Linked DNA regions of Homo sapiens: all the other regions are linked to region 2. Evidence: promoter capture Hi-C in 16 types of primary human blood cells and fetal thymus (Javierre and others, 2016). All regions are on one chromosome and are shown on one strand. The core of a region is centred on a gene start or on the middle of the fragment in contact, and the rest is flanking DNA. Distances in the headings are between cores, read along the strand shown. Region 1 overlaps RMND5A (required for meiotic nuclear division 5 homolog A). Region 2 holds the start of REEP1 (receptor accessory protein 1). Region 3 overlaps RNF103-CHMP3 (RNF103-CHMP3 readthrough).

Evidence for each region. Contacts are between HindIII fragments. The CHiCAGO score rates a contact against its expected background, and 5 or more counts as called.
Region 1: a fragment that was not itself captured here is called in contact with the fragment with the promoter of REEP1 in region 2 in 2 of 17 cell types (endothelial precursors and neutrophils); the score reaches 5.7 in endothelial precursors.
Region 3: a fragment that was not itself captured here is called in contact with the fragment with the promoter of REEP1 in region 2 in 1 of 17 cell types (total CD8 T cells); the score reaches 6.2 in total CD8 T cells.

What each region holds. Positions count from the first base shown.
Region 1 is chr2:86,753,235-86,757,758 of GRCh38, forward strand. It overlaps RMND5A (required for meiotic nuclear division 5 homolog A), which reads left to right. Exons shown (of 9, transcript NM_022780.4): 4 at 224-324. Among named protein-coding and RNA genes, the nearest start is that of RNF103-CHMP3, 34 kb to the left of the region's middle. The HindIII fragment of the contact is 3,769 bases long and covers 880-4,524 here.
Region 2 is chr2:86,335,828-86,339,952 of GRCh38, forward strand. REEP1 (receptor accessory protein 1) reads right to left here and starts at 1,799. Exons shown (of 9, transcript NM_001371279.1): 1 at 1,652-1,799. The coding sequence starts at 1,683. The HindIII fragment of the contact is 12,312 bases long and covers 1-3,860 here.
Region 3 is chr2:86,685,888-86,690,031 of GRCh38, forward strand. It overlaps RNF103-CHMP3 (RNF103-CHMP3 readthrough), which reads right to left. Exons shown (of 8, transcript NM_001198954.1): 2 at 2,345-2,438. Among named protein-coding and RNA genes, the nearest start is that of RMND5A, 32 kb to the right of the region's middle. The HindIII fragment of the contact is 2,243 bases long and covers 1,301-3,543 here.

The DNA of each region.
Region 1 (4,524 bases), core at 1,514-4,013, 420 kb after region 2:
CATACCCAGCTTTATTCCATTTGCTTATGTACCCTGCTGAAATTTGGGGATTCTACTATGGAAAAGAGGGGAAGAATGTACTAGGGGGCAGTCATCAGTCTCTACTATAGGGAATTATCTTTAATGGCTTGCCCCATATTTTACAATCTAGAATATACTTTTACCACTAGCTCCTTACCCTGATTACTGCTAACAAAAGTTCTTTCTTTCTTTCTTTTTCCAGGAATCTGGTCTTTCTGTAGACCCAAGTCAGAAGGAACCATTTGTGGAGTTAAATAGAATATTAGAGGCATTAAAGGTCAGAGTTCTGAGACCTGCTCTGGAGTGAGTATTGAGTTTGCTTTCTTTTGAGTACTTTGAGAACTCTCTGTAAGAAAACTCAATCAGAAAACACATTAGAGATTTTTAGATATATTTATCTTACCTGTGGTAGACTTCAGAGAAATCAAAGGAGAATTATTTTATTTATTTTGGCTAAGTGAAATATGGGGGGTGTGCAATATGAGAAAATGGTTGGAGCTTATTTCACTTATCAGTTGGTCTGAATTCCCATGAGAGAAAAGGGTTTTCTGTTTCCAGGCTACACCACCACTTTGTGTGGGCTGACATTACAACAAGCACTATTGTTCAGCCAGTGCAAGTTTGATATTTAAGCTTCCTTCATGTGCTGGGTTTTGCTGGGTTTTATGCTAGCATTCTAAGAAATTATTGGTTATTGGAACTAGGTGGTGTGGATGAAGAGAACAAATATTTTTATAAAGCTACTCTATTCTTAATTACTGTGGATTTTGGTAATTGACCATGAACCTCTCATTGATAAGAATTGTCTGAAATTACTCTGTAAGCTATAATAAATATTATTCTAGAGCAGGGTCAGCAAGCTTTTCCATAAAGGACCAAGTAGGAAATATTTTAGGCTTTTCATTTCACATAAGGTCTCTGTCGCATATTCTTCATTTTATTTTACAACCCTTTAAAAATTTAAAAACCCATTCTTGGCCATCTGCTATACAAAACAGGCAGCAAGCTGTATGTGGCCTGTGCCATAGTTTGCTGGCCCCAGTCCTAAAATTTTTTACTGTGAGGATTACCAGGTTATTTGTAATAAATAGCTCATAAAATAAAGGGAAGAAACTGGATTATAGAAGCAGTGATTTGTTGTGAGCTTATAGCTTTGGAATCCTGGTATTTTAAAACCAGAAAAATTAACCATCAGTGTTACAGGGTTAGCTGGGAAGTTGACTTTTATAAAATGTACACTTTTTCCCTTAAAATTTAGTTCCACTAACCCATTTAATTCTTCATAGCTTAGTTTTTTCTTTCTAATCATTTCTCAGTTCTTTCTCCTTTTTGAGACAGGGTCTCACTGTCACCCAGGCTAGAGTGCAGTGGCATAATCATGGCTCACTCCAGCCCCAACCCCCCAACCTCCCGCCTTAGCCTCCTGAGTAGTTGGGACTACAGGACTGTGCCGTTATGCCCAGCTAATTAAAAAAAATTTTTTTTTGTAGAGACAGGATCTCACTATGTTACCCAGGCTGGTTTCGAACTCCTGAGCTCAAGTGATTCTCCCACCTCGGCTTCCCAAAGTGCTGGAATTACAGACTTGAGCCTCTGTACTTGGCCATTTCTCAGTTCTGAGAAAATTTTGTGTAGTTCTAAAACCAGCCCAGATGACTAGACAGAAATTCCTGTATAAATTTATATAAAATTCTTGTATAAATTATAATAGATCTCACTTAAGAACTGTATCTCTGTGTAAGATGCATATTACCTTTGTAGAATTTGTTTAAGCAAATTTCAGATTGTGACACATCTGGGAGATAAATTCAACCAAATACCTCTAACACCTCTTAAACAAAATATGGCAACAACTACTTTTTTTTTTTTTTTTCCCAAAGAGACAGAGTCTTGCTCTGTGGCCCAGGCTAGAGTGCAGTGGGATGATCATAGCTCACTGCACACTCTCAAACTCCTGGGCTTAAGTAATCCTCCTGCCCCGGCCTCCTGAGTAGCTAAGACTACAGGTGCACACCACCACACCTGGCTAATTTTTAAATATTTTATAGAGACAGGATTTCTCTATGTCGCTCAGGCTGGTCTCAAACTTCTGGCCTCAAGTGATCCTCCTGGAGCGTCAGCTGCCCGAAGTACTGGGATTATAGGCATGGGCCAATGTGCCCGAGAAAGCCTACATACATATATGAACATGTAATGGGTTTCCCAGTTGTTTTATAGTGATTAGCAAATAATATTTGGGTTGTTATTCAAGGTAATATTCACTTATCTATGCGTTTCTTAGGTTTTTTCATTAAACTTTGTTCATATGTGCTAGTCATGTACGTACTATGACTATATCTGTAGTCACTGGCACATAGTATTTGCTACCTTAGCCTTCAGAGTACTCCAGACTTTTCTCCTAAGAGCCTTTTAAACTTTGTGCGTATATAAGATATGTTTCTTATTGATAAGCATGTTATGTATATTGATTATTTCTGTAAATTTTGTCTATTATTTGTTGCCTTAAAACAATTCCTCTCAGGCAGAGAGAGGACTTGTTCCATAAGTAAAAATTTTCTCATTTCATGTTTCTGGGAGTAGTGTTTAATATCAGCATGAGGGAATGTAGTGGTAATCATAGTTAACTCTGCTTGAGTGGTTATTGTATGCCTAGCATCGTTCTAAGCATTTTACGTGTCTTAACCTATTCAACCCTCATATTAACCTATGAGGTAAGTCATCTTACAGAGAAGCAATTAGGGCCTAGAAGATCCTCTGTGAAAAAAAGTCAAAAGATTATATGAGAAATGCTTTACATAATAGTCCCCCAGTATTCTCATTTGAGGTTCATTTTAACTTATTAAGTGTATCATCAAGCCAGGTGCAGTGGCTCACACCTGTAAGCCCAGCACTTTGGGAAGCTGAGGTGGGCAGATCGCTTGAGCCCAGGAGTTCGAGACCAGCCTGGGCAACATAGCAAAACCCTATCTCTACAAAAAAATAGAAAAATTAGCTGGGTATGGTGGTGTACGCCTGTAGTCTGAACTACTCAGGAGGCTGAAATGGGAGGATCACTTGAGCCCAGGAGGCGGAGTCTGCAGTGAACCAAGACCACACCACCACTCCAGAGCCGAATCCTGTCTCAAAAAATAAGAAAATAAATAGAAGTAAAAACGTACCATCAGTAATCCTACAGTAAAGAAACTCATTTAACTTGGTATAACCCAGTGTTTTCTCTGTGTATTTGACCAATCTTGTTTTCCCTCCAGATAACACATTTAAAACCCATAAAATTGGAGTTATACAAAACATAAGATTTAATAGAAATCGTCATTACAACAATTCAGATTTTTCCAATTCTTGCCTATTGTGGGTGCAGAGCAGATACTGACTAAGCATCTTTCATGAGCTAGGTACAGAAAATTCCCTTTACTCAACTTACAGCAAAAGTTGAATGATATGGGACTCCAATTTGGGGAATTCTAGTTAAGGTACAAGGCGGGAGATATCTGCCAGTTATGCAGCATCCCATTTGTTCCTGCTGGGAAGGATATCATGGAGCTCACAAGGGAAAAGAGGAAGGAGAGGATGCAGCAATTCCTCCAGACTGCCTATGCGGTGAGAAGGCAGAGGCCAGCCAAAAATTTGAGGTGGCTAGGCCGGGCACGGTGGCTCATGCCTGTAATCCCAGCACTTTGGGAGGCCAAGGCGGGCGAATCATCTGAGGTCAGGAGTTCAAGACGAGCCTGACCAACGTGGAGAAACCCCATCTCTATTAAAAATACAAAATTAGCCAGGTATGGTGGCGCATGCCTGTAATCCCAGCTACTCAGGAAGGCTGAGGCAGGAGAATCGCTTGAACCCGGGAGGCGGAGGTTGCGGTGAGCCAAGATCGCGCCACTGCACTCCAGCCTGGGCAACAAGAGTGAAACTCAGTCTCAAAAAAAAAAAAAAAAAAAAAAAAAAAAAAAAAGTGGAGGTGGCTAAAGGCCATTGAGGGCCTAGGGGAATGGTGATATTGTGGAGAGAAGTGGCAGAACAACACCTGATTACATAGATCTAATCAGGACCTTGCCTGCTCCTGTGTTCCGTGCCCTTGTACCTCTGAGTTTGTACAGATTTTCCCCCTCATCCAGATTTCTTTTATGCTCACCCAGATTGTTTTATTTGCTTTTTGAATTTCTCTTGGCGCCTAGAGTAGTGCTTACCTCATAGTAGGCCCTCAATGAATAACAGTAATCTGCAGGAGAATTTAGAGCAAACTTGTCATCCTCTTCCATGGTGGCAGATAGAAAGCCAAAAATAGTGTTAACGAGAGAATAGTAACTTAATACAACGAGGTGGGGGAAATATTAGAAAAAATAGGAACTGTCCTTGTAGCTATGCCATTATTAACATACATATTGAAAGAAAGCACTATCTTTAGGGGAAGCTACTTGGTTGCCTTCCTAAACGTGTCTCAAAGAGTAATACTACCTTGCTGGATTTGCCACAGTCTAGTATCTGACTTTCAGCTTTGCAGAC
Region 2 (4,125 bases), core at 549-3,048:
GCGACAGAGCGAGACTCGGTCTCAAAAAAAAAAAAAAAAAAAGGGCAGGGGTGAGGGAGGTGCTAATAAAACTAATGATAGTCACATGACCCAGTGCTAATAAAACTAATGATAGTCACATGACCCAGGATCAGATGCCCTCACTCCCAGCCCAGCAGGACCTACAGAGAGCCCACCAGCCAGGCCAGCTCAACTCTCCAGCCCCACCCTGAGGGCTTCCCAGAAGCCACTGGCAATATCGATCCCAGAGAGGAAACACCACCCTGAAGGCAAGACAGTGTTGGTCAGGCATGAGGCTGGGCAAGGCGTGTCAGCCACTTTCCTGTATTATTCATGTCGGCTCTGCCAGCAGAAATCTTCTAAATATTTAACATGCCACCTCAAGGTGCAGCGCAAACACCCCGCAGTCAGGAACAGCTGTGGAGAGGCCTTCACGGAATGACTTGGGGGCTGAGAGGCACAGACACTGGCTTTGGGAGGAAAGCCCTGAATGGTGGCGGGAGACAATGCTGAGATCCACTTCGGAAGGGAAAATCAGTAAAGAAGGGAAGGGAGATGGGTGGTGTTTCAAAACGTGGGGAGTGATGGTGCACAATCACTGGGGTCCAGAGCCCCGTGTTCTCAGACAAAGAAAAAGCCCGAGGTGCCTGCCACCCTCCTCCCCGCCTTAGACTCCCCACACCCATTTCAGCCCCTGCTAGCTACAGCAGGTGGCAAATCTGTTCTGACTCAGGCCAGGATGGTTAGGGAAGAACAGGGACTTGGAACAGCCACGTCTATCTCCAAAGGAGAATAAATCCACCGGGGAAGCTCTTCAAACGCCTACAGGTCCTGGGGCTTGAAGGAGAAAATCGGCCCCCACGCCCACCCCCAATGACTTCACACAGACCTCACCCTAGATGACTCTGCGCTCTCCTGCAAGGCCTGGGAGGTGTCATCGCCACCATGCGGGTGGCTGTCACTTGAAAATTTCCCGTGCATTCCTGGAGGTACCTGCCCCTGTCTCTCAATCCCCTGCAAAAGGAGTCGGAGCCGGGGGCTCCAGGCGTTTACTCCAAGATTCACATGCGTCTTCCCATGTCCCAGCTGCCTTTGCCGCTGTCGATGCAGACACCTAAAAAGGAGGATTTTTCCAACCCCACTGGGAGCCCCGCCTCTGCCTCTCCACCCGTTCCGCGCTGACCCTCCAGGCAGCGCCCCTGGTTCGTCTGCGCTGTCCTTTCCACCTGACAAAAGCTGGGGCGGCGGGGCGCGGCGCCGGGCGACCTCACATTTCTGCCAAAGGAGAGAGACGCGTGTCCGCGGTGCGCCCATTCGGGGCCTCTGCAAATCGACCGAGCTGAGGAACAAAGCGGCCAGCGCGCGGCGAGACGCAGCCCCCACGGAACCCCCGAGCGCCCCAGCCCTCGCCGTCCCGGCCCAGCCCCCCGCAAGCGGCCGCCGGCGCCGGCTGCCTCCTGGGCAGCAGCCGCGTCCTGCGCCGCCCGTCCGCCCGCAGGCGTCCTCGGCGGCTACTGTACCTGCTAAATTTAGCTGCGCCGGGTATTAATAGCCCGAGCCACTGGGACCGGGCGCTGTAGGGGCGCGCGCAGCCCGGGGCCGGGGGCGGGGAGGGAGGGGACGGAGGGGCGCGGGGGAGAAGGCCACTTACACCACCAGCCTGGAGATGATCCATGACACCATGGCGGGCAGGCGGGCGGGCGAGGCCCGGGCGGCGCGGCTCGGCTAGGCTGCGGGCGGCGCGGGCTGCTGCGGCGTTCCCGGAACGTCAGTCAGCTCACGGCAGCCGCCGCCAGACTGAGCGCGCCCGCCGCCCTGCCCGGCGTTCGCGCGTTGGCGCAGCCGCGGCACGTTCTGGCGGCGGCGGCGGCGGCCCCAGCCCCCCGGGGCTCGGCGGGCCCGCAGCGATTGGGCGGTGAGCTGGTCAGGGCACCCGCGGGCCCGCCCCGTCCCGCTCGCCCTGGCCCCCGGCTGAAGGCGGGCGCGTCCTGCGCGCTCCCCGGGGCACCGGCCCCGCCAAAGGAACCCTGCAGCGGCCCCGTTTGCAGGGCAGGGACCCGGGTGCTGCCCCACCCTCAGCGTTCCAGCGGAGAAACTGAAGTCCGAACCTGAACCTCGGGAATCTGTCTGCACCTGTCTAGGTGGGATGCTGTCATCCCTCATTCAGCTAGTGCGTTAGCCTCATAAAGGGTTTACCTGGATCCAGACCTAACCTCTTCAGTCTGTCCGTTGCTCAGCACTTTCTGCATAAGAAACAAACCTGGGCGCTTGCCTCCCTACTTAAAATTCTACAGAGTCCCTATATGATCGTGGTACCTGCCTAGAACCGTGTTGCCAAGACCATTCCCCCAAATAGTCCTCTAGCTCTTTTCCCTCCAGGCATCTTGGACTCAAATATTTGCTGTTTCTTCTTCCCTGTCAGTACACGCCACGCCTCATCGTCCTGCCTTGGTTTGATTCAGCTCCTTCTTCTAGGCTGGGCTGAAGGGCTACTTCTTCCTAGGGAAGGCCTTTCCTTGGGGGCTGCTCCGGGCCCTAGGAGGAGACTAGAAGCTGCGACTGCTTAGCACCAGTGCCCCGCTGAGCCACGTTGAACTCTTAGGCAAAAGGGAACTTGTGCACCCTATATAAACGTTTTTATGTATTTTTTAAAATACCGTATTAAATATTATGGTGGTTTTTTTTGTTGTTGTTGTTTTTTTATGAGACAGAGTCTCGCTCTGGGGTGCAGTGGCGCGATCTCGGCTCACTGCAAGCTCCGCCTCCCGGGTTCAAGCGATTCTTCTGCCTCAGCCTCATGAGTAGCTGAGATTACAGGAGTGCGCCACCACGCCCAGCTAATTTTTGTATTTTTAGTAGAGACGGGGTTTCACCATGTTGTCCAGGCTGGTCTCAAACTCCTGACCTCGTGATCCGCCCGCCTTGGCCTCCCAAAGTGCTGGGATTACAGGAGTGAGCCACCTATTATGTATTTTAGTTGCTGAATTTTATGGCACCTCTTAAATGTTGCACCCTCACTGAGCGCCTCACTCTGCTCACCCTAGTCCCGGCCGCAGATAGTACATTATTCTGTTACACTGGAAACGCTTTGTCCTCTACTCCTAGGCTCTGCTGCTGCTTTTCCCACCCTCCAATAGCTTAGGTTCTGCGTGGTGCTCCCAGCGCCCTGTCCTTTGCTGATGATGGTGTCATGTATAATTCAGTGTCAGATGTGAGAAGCGCAGGAGACAGCTTAGTACTCTCAGATGTAGCAGAATCTGTGCGTGCGTGTGCCTGATATAGTCAGAAGAAAGACTTCACGGACAACAAAGGGACTGCAGATGAGACATGCTCTCATATCTCAGGTCTCCAAAGAACCCATAAAATAGCTGTAATGTAGCAGTTTTTTCATGCTGCCTTGACCCAGTTTTGAGGCTCAGGCTGGAGGCTGGTCAGTTCCCCTTCTCCAGCAGTCTATTAACTGCATACCCCCAACCACTTCCGTTAGCAGGCTCTCACACGCGGGACACTATACACCTGTCCAGGGCTAGGCACCAAACAACTAGTTACAGCCCCTGTACTTCAGAACCCGCTGAAATTATCCAAATTAGCCTATCCTATATCTGCTTGCCTTATTTCACTCTTTCCTTCCCTCAGAAACCATGATAAAGATGTTTGTCCACAATTCCCCTCTCTCCCTCTCTCTGTGACAGACCCTGGCCCTGAGTGGACCTGCATGGTGTGCTGTGATCTCTCCAGGAAACTGTGGATATAAAAAGCTCTAAAACTCTTTCTAGCTTCTCTCTCTTGATCTGTGTCTGGCCCCACCATATCTCACTCAAGGTAAGGTTATACGGGTAAAACAATGCTCCACGGGGAAAAGCTTTCCATACTTACTAGGCAAAGAGAACACCAAAGCTAGATCAGGACAGCACCCAGCACAGAGGACCTTCCTGAGACCTCCCTTCCCCTCCATCCATACCCCTCACCTATGCTCCCTGCGTCAGAAAGGCTGTTACCCATCTTGCAGGGGGAGCAGCGGAGGGATGGACTACTGTGGTTCAAAGAGACCCTGTTGGTGGGAAAATAAAGAAGAGGTGACCACATGCTTGTTCCCTACTCCCTATAAGTGGAATTCTCAGATTT
Region 3 (4,144 bases), core at 1,172-3,671, 350 kb after region 2:
TTCTATTTGCATCTTTATATTTAAAATGGGTTTCTTTTAAACAAAATTTAGTTAGGCCTTTTTTTTTCTAATTTTTTCATCTTGTGGGGACTTGTTTTTTTTAACCACTCTGACAGTCTTTTTTAATTGGTGTACTTAGGCCATTCACATTTAAAGTGAATATTGATATCATTGGATTAATACCTACTGTATTTTAAACTTTTCTATTCATTGCTTTTGTTCTGTTTCTTTTTTTATCTTCCACTCTTTTTCTGCCTTCTCTGTTTTTGTTTTTGTTTTTGTTTTTTTGCCTTCTCTGGTTTTAATTGTGCATTTTAAGATTCCATTTTCTCTTCTCTCATATCAATTATATTTCTTTTTAGTGGTTTCCCTAAAATTTTTAATATACATGTATAACTAATGCAAGCCCACTTTAAAGTAATAGTGTACTGCTTCACAGTACAAGTACCTTATAATGGTTTTCCCAGTGCCTCCCTCCCACGCCTTACAGCATGCGTCCATTCATTTCACTTATTCATAAGCAATGGTCACTGAAAGCATGGATTGTATAGGTTAGAACTAAATTGGTATAGCGAAAATTTCATTTATTTTGTAAATAATTTTTCCCGTGTGGCTGTTATTGTGCTCTACCATTTTATATTTTATTAGTGATCCAGTGATTTTTGAAGACAAGGTATGAGACAGAAGAAAATATTATAGGCCTAGATCCATGGACTCTTCTGATGGGGTTGATGAAGAGTTTTAACCGATATTTATTTATTTATTTATTTATTTATTTATTTATTTATTTATTTATTTTGGGGATAGGGTCTCACTCTGTCGCCCAGGCTAGAGTGCAGCGGTGTAATTATAGCTCACTGTAGCCTCAAACTCCTGGGCTCAAATGATCCTCCTGCCTTAGCCTTCAGAGTAGCTAGGACTACAGGCATGTGCCACCATGCCTTGTTATTTTCTTGTTGTTGTAGAGAAGAGATCTTGCTATGTTGCCCAGGTGTTTTCAAACTACTAGCCTCAACCAATCCTACCATGTTAGCCTCCCAAAGTGCTGGGATTACAGATGAGAGCCACCATGCCCAGTCAAGAATTTTAATCCTTTGAAGCATTTTACTACACCAGACAACAAGGAACTCTGGTAATCCAAATTGTTCCATTCCTTTGTGCATTGTCTGTGGTAAACAACTTACACATCCAGCAATGGCTCTGGCAAAACTGCAAAGACTCTTAACTCCAAAGCACAGACATTTGACAAGTAAAAGGGCAGATTATTTTCGGTGGTTACTGGAACATTGAAAGACAGTAAAGCTTTTGTTAAAAAACAAACAAACAAAAAAAAGTCGTAGTCAGTGAATAGCCTCAGGAAGCAAGCTATTTAGTAGCAGTTATTTAATGTCCAGAAAAGGAAAATGCACACAGTAATGAGAACCTAAATTAGAGTAAATAAAATGCTAGGGCCAGCTCGAGCCCAGGATTGAGTCCAGTTTGGGCAACATAACGAGATGCTGTCTCTAAAAACAAACAAACATAAAATACTAGGACAAGATGTAGCATGCGAAAATGAAAAGTTTTCTCTCTCAATACCATTAGTCAACGTATTGATGATACATGCCATAAACGGAAACAAATGGTTCTCTATGTAGGTTGATGAATCAACAGATTTTACCAATAAATGTCATATTATAACATTAGTGGTTGTTGTTTGAGATGGAATCTCGCTCTGTTGCCCAGGCTGGAGTGCAGTGGTGCGATCTCGTTCACTGCAACCTCAGCCTCCCAGGTCCAAGCGATTCTCCTGCCTCAGCCTCTCAAGTAGCTGGGACTACAGGCACAGGCCACCACACCTGGCTAATTAATATCATAACATTTGTAAGATTTTTAAACAAGGTGGTTTTCAAGACTTTTTTTTTTTCTGGTGCAAAGAGCTGTCCCAAACAAGCAAAATCCCGGATAAATTTTTTTTTTTTTTTTTTTTTTTTTTGAGACGGAGTCTCGCTCTGTCACCCAGGCCGGAGCGCAATGGCGCGATCTCGGCCCACTGCAACCTCCGCCTACCGGGTTCAAGTGATTGTCCTGCCTCAGCCTCCCAAGTAGCTGGGATTACAGGCATGCACCACGACGCCCAGCTAATTTTGTATTTTTAATAGAGACAGGTTTCTCCATTTTGGTCAGGCTGGTCTGAACTGCTGACCTCAGGTGATCCGCCCGCCTCGGCCTCCCAAAGTGCTGGAATTACAGGCGTGAGCCACAGTGCCCGGCCCCGGGTGCATTTAATGTTCTGTCGTTGTATCTGGAATGAAAAGGTCTGATCTGGAAGAAATATGTGGGCATCTATACTGACAGGACTCACCAGTGAACTCCAGGAGCGGCAAAGGGAACACAGGAAATTCTGACTTCGTTCACAACACACTCTTTTCTTCATAGAGAGGTGCTGGTGTCAAAGCCTGTCAAAGAAGAAATTTTAAAAGTCTGGATGATGTGACAAAAATAGTCAACTTTCTTAAATAGAGCTACAGTCTGATCATGTACTGAAGATGAGATTTACTCATCTATCTCTTGACAAACTGGATTTCTATGAAAAAATAGTTTTCTGATATTCACGGGAAAGCAACGAACACCTCGGTGGTTTTTAACTTCTTTTTTTTGAGATGGAGTTTTGCTCTTGTTGCCCAGGCTGGAGTGCAATGGCTCAATTTTGGCTTTTGGCAACCTCTGCCTCCCGGGTTCAAGCAATTCTCCTGCCTCAGCCTCCCGAGTAGCTGGGATTACAGTCATGCGCCACCATGCACGACTAATTTTGTATTTTTAGTAGAGACTTGGATTTCTCCATGTTGGTCAGGCTGGTCTCGAACTCCTGACCTTAGGTGATCCTCCCATCTCGGCATCCCAAAGTGCTGGGATTACAGGCGTGAGCCACCATGCCTTGTTGGTTTTTAACTTCTTAAACTTGTAAATAAACTTTTTCTTGTTTTTGTTTTTTGAGACAAGGTCTCATTCTGTTGCCCAGGCTGGTGCAGTGGCATGATCAGAGCTCACTGCAGCCTCAACTTCCCGGCCTCAGGCCATCCTCCCACCTCAGTCTCATGAGTAGCTCAGACAACACATGCATGCCATCACACCTGGCTATTTTTCTTTCTTTTTTTTTTGCGGAGGCAGGATCGCCTTATATTGCTCAGGCTGGTTTTTCTTCTTTAAGAAGCATTTGAAATTGTCATATTTATGTTGAAAATTGTGTATTTGACAAGCAAATACACAAGCACAAGTTTCAATTAAGGGGTAGAGTCCATTCTTTAGTTTTAGTTTAAAAAAAGTGTTTAATACACTTTTAATACTTTTATATAGACCAATTAAAGAGATCAAGAAAGTAATACATGTATATAATAATTTTGTAATTGCTAGGCCTACATGGGAGTGTGTTAGTCCATTTTGTGTTGCCATAAAGGAATACCTGAGGCTGGGTAATTTATAAAGAGGTTTATTTTGCTCACGGTTCTGCAGGCTATACAAGAAGCATGATGCCAACATCTGCTCCTGGCTAGGCCTTCAGGAAGCTTCCAATCATGGCTGAAGGTGAAGGGGGCCCAGAATGTCACAAAGTGAGAGAGGAAAAGGGAGAGAAGGTGGAGGGCAGTGTTTTCTTAAACAACTAATTCTCGTATAAACTAACAGAGCAAGAACTCATTCATTACCACCAGGACAGCCTCAAACCATTCATGAGGGATCTGCTCCCATGATCCAAACTCCTCCCATTAGGCCCCACCTCCAACTTTATCATATTTCAACATGAAATTTGGAGGGAACAAATATCCAAACCGTATCAGGCAGCCTGATCATGTCACTCAGTAAGGAAACGCTTTTAAACTGTCTTAAAACAGTCTTAGGCCATTTTTATTCATATTGTTTTCTTTGCAGTTTTACTAACTTTCTTTTAACATTTTCAATAAATTTTCATGTTGTAAATAACATTAATTAAAATCAATTTACAACCTTTATATAAATTAAATCAACTCCTTCTACCTTTAGAAAAATTTCATTTTGTCTTAAGCCTGTATAACAAAAATGTATTATTTTTACTATATGAGTTTTAAAATTTTATGAAAAGCCACTAGGGAGATTCATTTCAAGAAAGGTAAGCTAATCTTAACTATCT